2 separate regions of the Homo sapiens genome follow, and region 2 is linked to region 1. Evidence: promoter capture Hi-C in 16 types of primary human blood cells and fetal thymus (Javierre and others, 2016). All regions are on one chromosome and are shown on one strand. Each heading gives the region's core, a stretch centred on a gene start or on the middle of the fragment in contact. The rest is flanking DNA. Distances are from core to core; before and after follow the strand shown. Region 1 holds the start of XPO5 (exportin 5). Region 2 overlaps UBR2 (ubiquitin protein ligase E3 component n-recognin 2).

Region 1 (3,370 bases), core at 303-2,802:
TATATTATATATATATTATGAATAAAGAACTGATAAACATTCCTTCCAGCGTGATGGTTCCAGATTTTTTCCATGCTACGGCCAACAGTAGCCCTACTAGTGTTGGAAAAAAATGGACACAAAGGAATAAGAAATTATTTGTTAGAGACATCCCCCTGACGTACATAGGGGTGAAATAACAATTTCTAGGGTTTCTTTTAAAAACCTTCGAGGCAGGGAGAGAGGATAGGCGGTGGAAAAAGTAAATGCGGTAAAATCTTTGATTGCTGAATTTAGGTGACAGGAACATGCAGAATCACTGTCGTATTCTCTCCACTTTTGTGTCTATTTTAAATATTAATAATAAAAACCAAACTAATGGAACCCAATTGTTTCTGATTCCAAACCCTGTGGCAGACATCTACATATTGTAACATTTCCTCCAAGTGGTGGTCACTCTCTTTTTTGAAGTTAACATCACTTTAAAAATGTACAGCACAAGTATTTTCTCCTAAATGGCCATTTCTCACAGCCCACACACGTTGTTTTATGGGCAAGTAAGCTTGAATTGTATTAACACCCCCAAACTGCAACATAAGTCAGTCCCAAGAGCAGAGCATTCGGGTCTCACGCAAACTACTTTCAGGAAACCAAAGTGCCCTTGTTAAAATGCAAAGTAAGTGGTAGAAGTTATCTTTGCGCAAAATAGCCTAAAAATATTACACTCAAAAACATGGGAGAAGTAGGGGTGCGAGAATTTCCCCGGAAAATGTCCAAGACACAAACGAAAGTTAGCGAGATGTTAAAGCATATAAGCATAAGGGTACCAGAGGGGCTGGAGCTCGGTCAGGGCCAGGGGAGTGGGCCAGCAGGAAAACGTTTAGTGCAGGAGAGACCATAAAGAACGAAGCTGGTGTTGGGGGCGGGATCTACACGTGCGCCTCGGGAAGGCGAGGGGATGTCGGGCTTGGGGAATGAAAATGGGCGAGGGTCATGTTGCGGACAAGAGTGCACAGAAGCGAGGAAAGGGGGAGGAGAGGGCTGTGGGAAGCTGCGGCGAGATGAGAAGCAGCATAGGGACCGGAGTGTCCCAGGCAAAGGACAGGAGCGGCGAGTAGAGAAGGCGGCGATTTGGGAGAGGCGCGGAGGGCCGCGAGGGGAAGGTCCCGGGGAGTTGGGAAAGGAGGTCCAGGGGCCGCGTGGGCGGGAGACTACCCCAGTTACAGGCGGCGCCGGAGCTGCTGGGGCTGGGAGAGGGTGTCGGGACCGGCCCAGGACGCCAGGACCCCAGCTACCTTGAGGGCTTCCAGCCGGTAGCGCTGGGTGGAGTTGGGGTCCATCATGACCGTCACCGCTTTCACCAGCTGCTCGCACAGCGCGTTTACTTGATCCATCGCCATGCCTAGCGCCACGCGCCGAGAGCGCACACCACTGCAGTCCCGGGACCACGAGGCACGACAGCTCCCTCGGCGAGACCACCCGTTGGTACCGGGCCGCGGCGGGCGGCGGGGGTGGGAAGCTGGAGGAGGAGCGTTAGCAGCAACTCGCGCTGGGAAGAAGCCGGCGCTGCGCACGCGCCCGGCCCGCCACTGCGCACGCGCCCGCGGAAGTGGCGGCTCCCGTGTGCAGGTTGAGCCTAGGTGGGCGGGGCGGGAGGCGGAAGGGCCGCGGTGCGCAGCCGCGTCAACGGCCCTTCGCAGCGGGCGCGCTGTCAGACCTCAGTCTGGCGGCTGCATTGCTGGGCGCGCCGCTCTCGTCTGATCCCTGCTGGGGACGGTTGCCCGGGCAGGATCCTTTACGATCCCTTCTCGGTTTCTCCGTCGTCACAGGGAATAAATCTCGCTCGAAACTCACTGGACCGCTCCTAGAAAGGCGAAAAGATATTCAGGAGCCCTTCCATTTTCCTTCCAGTAGGCACCGAACCCAGCATTTTCGGCAACCGCTGCTGGCAGTTTTGCCAGGTGTTTGTTACCTTGGTAAGAAAATTTAGAACCGTTCGCTGTCACTGTGTTCAGACTTTCTATGTTGCCTTGGCTATTGGTTTTATAATGTAGCAGTGACTGGGCCAAGGTTGCGTGAAATATAAATCATGCTAACAGGGATAAGGCCCTGGTACTGTCTTCTAAGATTTTTCTTGTAGAAAAAAGTATGTTTTTCCCTGTAGTTGTTAAACCTCTCTCTTGGAATTACTTTCCTGGATGTATTATTACCTGGTGGGCACTAAACTTGTTTTGTGCGGATTGGGGTAACTCGAGATGTTTAAAGGGAATAATTGCAATCAGTGAAGGTTTGTGCAGTTTTGATAATTGGCCAAGTGCTATGTATAAGGTTTCAAAGTAGTGTAATCCTTATCCAAAAGCATGGCTTGGGCAGAAAGTCTTCTTCATTTTCCATCTTTATAAAGCTCTTGGCCGGGCGCGGTGGCTCACGCCTGTAATCCCAGCACTTTGGGAGGCGGAGGCGGGCGGATCACCTGAGGTCAGGAGTTCGAGACCAGCCTCACCAACATGGTGAAACCCCGTTTCTACTAAACATACAAAAATTATGTTTGCATTTTTAGTATTTTTATACAGGCGTGGCGGTGCGCGCCTGTAATCCCAGCTACTCGGGAGGCTGAGGTGGGAGAATCGCTTGAACCCGGGAGGCGGAGGTTCAGTGAGCCGAGATCGCGCCTTTGCACTCCAGCCTGGGCGACAGAGCGAAACTCCGTCTCAAAAATAAATAAATAAAGCTCTTGCTTTCTCCAGTAAATACATAAACGGAAAACCTCAACAGCTTTATTATCTGTTAAAGTCTGCATGTCTGTTTTTGTGATTGTGTGCTTAGTAAATTGTGTGCTGAACATAAATCACTGCTTCCTATTCTTGCTCCACTTCTGGTATTTGGATCTAATATGGTGCTTAGCCTGTGTTTTTTTGTGTTACAATACTATTTGTTGGCTCAGTCTGTTCCAGTACTACTGAAAAGCCACTTCAAAGTAGAGGGACTTCTGGCATGTTATAGTTTTAACTTGTAAATGTTTAAAGTATCACATTCTGCCTGTTTTAGGCGTGGTCGATTGGAATTTATAAGGAATTAATGCTTTGACTGCTCTGATTTTAATTATTTTTCTTTCCACTCACCTTCCTGCTTTGCAGTTGTAAGACGTTTTTTTTTTCAAGGTGAATGTTAGTTTTTGAAAAACTTTTTTTAGAATACAGTTGGGTGCTCACTCAACTGTATAACCTGTGTTTCTCGTATTTAAATCATGGATTGCTGGTGTTTCGATTGTCTTATTTAGGTCTTGGCTCCCAAACTGCTGCATATTGGAATTACCTGGAGAGCTTTTAAAAATCCCCGGCCTGGCGCGGTGGCACACGCCTGTAATCCCAGCACTTTGGGAGGCCGAGGC
Region 2 (3,201 bases), core at 663-3,162, 1.0 Mb before region 1:
TTGTTTTTTGAGACAGGATCTCACTCTGTCACCCAGGCTGAAGTGCAGTGGCGTGATCATGCCTCACTGAAGCCTCAACCTCCGGGGCTCAGGTGATCCTCCCACCTCAGCCTCCTGAGTAGCTGGGACTACAGGCATGCACCACCATGCCCAGCTAATCTTCTTTTATTTTTAGAAGAGACAGGGTTTTGCCATATTGCCCAAGCTAGACTCGAACCTCTGAACTCAAATGAGCCACCCGCCTTGGCCTCCCAAGTGCTGGGATTACAGGCATGAGCCAAAGAGCCTGGCCGATTTTTTTTTTTTTTCTTAACCAGAAGCTGATACTAGCGTCTGAATTTTTGTTGAAGAAATCTATGAACAAATTTGCTCTCGTTACAGTTACTAGACTGCATAATTTTTTTTTAGAAAGCATCCATGCTAGCCTGTAGTCCCAGCTACTTGGGAGGCTGAGGCAGGAGAATGGCGTGAACCTGGGAGGCGGAGCTTTCAGTGAGCCGAGATCGCGCCACTGCACTCCAGCCTGGGTGACAGAGCAAGACTCCGTCTCAAAAAAAAAAAAAAAAAAAAAAAAGCATCCCTTCTAAAGTAACCTTTCATTCTTGTATTAAAATTTTGCAACAGTGAAGTTTTACAGGAATGGGAACATAAAATATAAGGAAAAAAACTGGTTTTTAAATAAAATCTTTCAATATGTTGTAAAAAAAAGTCCGAAGCACTTAACTTTCTAGGATCATGGAGGTGAATTATTTTGGTCTTATTGCTTAATTTTTCTTTCATAAAGAGTAAATTGAATCCTAGCACCTTTGGGAGGCCGAGGTGGGCAGATCACCTGATGTCAGGAGTTTGAGACAAGCCTGGTCAACATAGTGAAACCTTGTCTCTACTAAAAATACAAAAATTAGCCGCGTGTGGTGGTGCACACCTGTAACCCCAGCTACTCAGGAGGCTGAGGCAGGAGAATCACTTGAACCTGGGAGGCAGAGGTTGCAGTGAGCCGAGATCGTACCACTGCACTCCAGCCTGGGCGACAGCACGAGACTCAAAAAAAAAAAAAAAAAAAAGCGCTTAGGATCATTTGACTACCTTCATTCTTGTTTTGGTTTGCTGACAATGGGTGAAAAATGAGACATTTACCTTTGAATGAGGCCAAAACGAGGTCTTTTAGCTCAAAGAATAAGATTCTAGTATGCTTGTTGAGGACTCTTTTTCTTTTTTTAAAACTTGTCCTCTTTATAATTACTGAGCTTAAAGGATGTGTATGTATATATAAAATTTTGATTGAGTCACTCTGAAGGGAGAGAATACTTAAAGCCTGTAGGATTGTCTCCTAAGAAATGATGCTGCTGCTGCTGTTTTATTTTTATTTTTATTTTTTTTTCCCTAACCACTTGGCCACCAGGGAAGAAATGCTGTTGTTTTGAAAGTAATTTAGTCTCTTTCCTACTTGCATAATGTAAACACAACAATGTTAGTAATATTTGGAAAATAGTTTAGTTTCACTTTAAGCATGAAAACTCTTTCACCGTTTTTGGTTATAAGCTTCTATCCAGTCCCTTAACTTATGAACAAAATTTTTACATTTTTAGTAAAAGTTCTCTGAAAACAGAAATTGACTAGAAAGTTAATATACATCACCTCATGCATATTTAAAATCTCTCTGTATGTTGTTTTTAGAAGGAGTGGTCTGAAGAATATACAAGTAATAGCTAAAATGAAGACCTTATGTTGACTTCTTATGATGTTACATATCACTTGAACATACTTTTTTTTTTTTTTTAAATAAAAATGTAACTGGAATTAGGTAGTAATCCATAGGTAAACATTGGAGGTTTTTTTTAATTTCAGCTTTTACTTTAGATTTAAGGAATACATGTGCAGGTTTGTTACATGAGTATATTGCACCTGGGTAGTGAGCATAGTACCCAATAGGTAGTTTTTCAACTCACTTCCCCTTCCTCTTTCCCTCCATCTGTGGGTTTTGTTCACGGTTCAGTTAACTGCATTCTAGCAGAAGTGAGTCTTTTTTTTTTTTTGTCCTTTGAGACAGACTCTTGCTCTGTCGCCCAGGCTGGATCTTGGCTCACTACAACCTCTGCCTCCTGGGTTTAAGCGATTTCTCCTGCCTCAGCCTCTTGAGTAACTGTGATTACAGGCATGCGCCACCACATCCAGCTAATTTTTATATTTTTAGTAGAGAAGAGACTTCACCATGTTGGCCAGGCTGGTCTTGAACTCCTGACCTCAGGTGATCTGCTTGGCCTGGCCTCCCAAAGTGCTGGGAAGCTTTTCAGATTTTTCGGTGTGGATACCCAGGTTGAGCTGGAAATGGAGAAAATAACAGATTTTGGTGGAGCATGGAGGGGAGATCATGCATTCAGTTATTGAGTTGGTACCTATGAGATCTAAGTAGAATCATGCTTTAAAATTTGTTTTTAGTGGGGAGAGCAAACGGAAAAGGCCTTATAGAGAGAGAGAAGTTGATCAGAGAAAGAAGGCATAATTGGTACAACAGTCTCTTGTGGACTGACTTATTCAATAAGAGACTGGTATATAAACTTGCTTATCAATCATTAAGAAATGTGTATTGGCTGTTCATGTTCACCGTACATATTGGCTGTTCATATTCACCGTACACTCTTCCTATGGACAAACTGACGTGAGAATTGATATCACAATGAGAATAACATTTGAGCAAAGCATTAGGAAGGACATTAGGTGAGCTCAATGGTTCATATCTTATATAATGATTTCTTGTAATTATTTTCTGGTACTGCCTAGAGAAGATTGCTTCAAGAGTCATTTTGCAGGGAAGGAGGGAGGCTTGTTTCATTTTAATTTTACTTACACTTAAAAGTAGGATTTAAACATACTTGGCATTTTAATAGATTAAATTTCTAACGTACGGTGGTGAGTGTTGTAAACAAAATATTTTAATATGCTTTTGTCATTATTTTTGTACCTAAAAGAAAGTAGGGTGAATTTGTTCAAATTAGTTTGTTGGTGTTTAAAACCATTTCTTCTCTTTTCTTCTTTTAAAGAAATGGCTGCAAGCAACTGACCTCACTAGAGAAGTGTACCAGCATTTAGCCCACTATGTACCCAAAATCTACTGCAGGGGTCCCAACCCTTTTCCACAGAAAGAAGACATGCTGGCACAGCATGTTTTGTTGGGACCAATGGAATGGTACCTTTGTGGTG

Evidence for each region. The method cuts DNA at HindIII sites, captures the fragments that hold promoters and counts their contacts. A CHiCAGO score of 5 or more calls a contact.
Region 2: a contact is called between a fragment that was not itself captured here and the fragment with the promoter of XPO5 in region 1, in 1 of 17 cell types (total B cells). The highest score is 5.5, in total B cells.

The regions. Positions count from the first base shown.
Region 1 is chr6:43,574,486-43,577,855 of GRCh38, forward strand. It overlaps XPO5 (exportin 5), which reads right to left and starts at 1,553. Exons shown (of 32, transcript NM_020750.3): 1 at 1,275-1,553. The coding sequence starts at 1,379. POLH (DNA polymerase eta) reads left to right here and starts at 1,700. Exons shown (of 11, transcript NM_006502.3): 1 at 1,700-1,955. RefSeq lists a silencer at 1,500-1,699 and enhancers at 1,720-1,969, 3,298-3,370. The HindIII fragment of the contact is 3,950 bases long and covers 540-3,370 here.
Region 2 is chr6:42,570,693-42,573,893 of GRCh38, forward strand. It overlaps UBR2 (ubiquitin protein ligase E3 component n-recognin 2), which reads left to right. Exons shown (of 47, transcript NM_001363705.2): 2 at 3,042-3,201. Among named protein-coding and RNA genes, the nearest start is that of UBR2, 8.3 kb to the left of the region's middle. RefSeq lists enhancers at 2,068-2,127, 2,218-2,267. The HindIII fragment of the contact is 744 bases long and covers 1,541-2,284 here.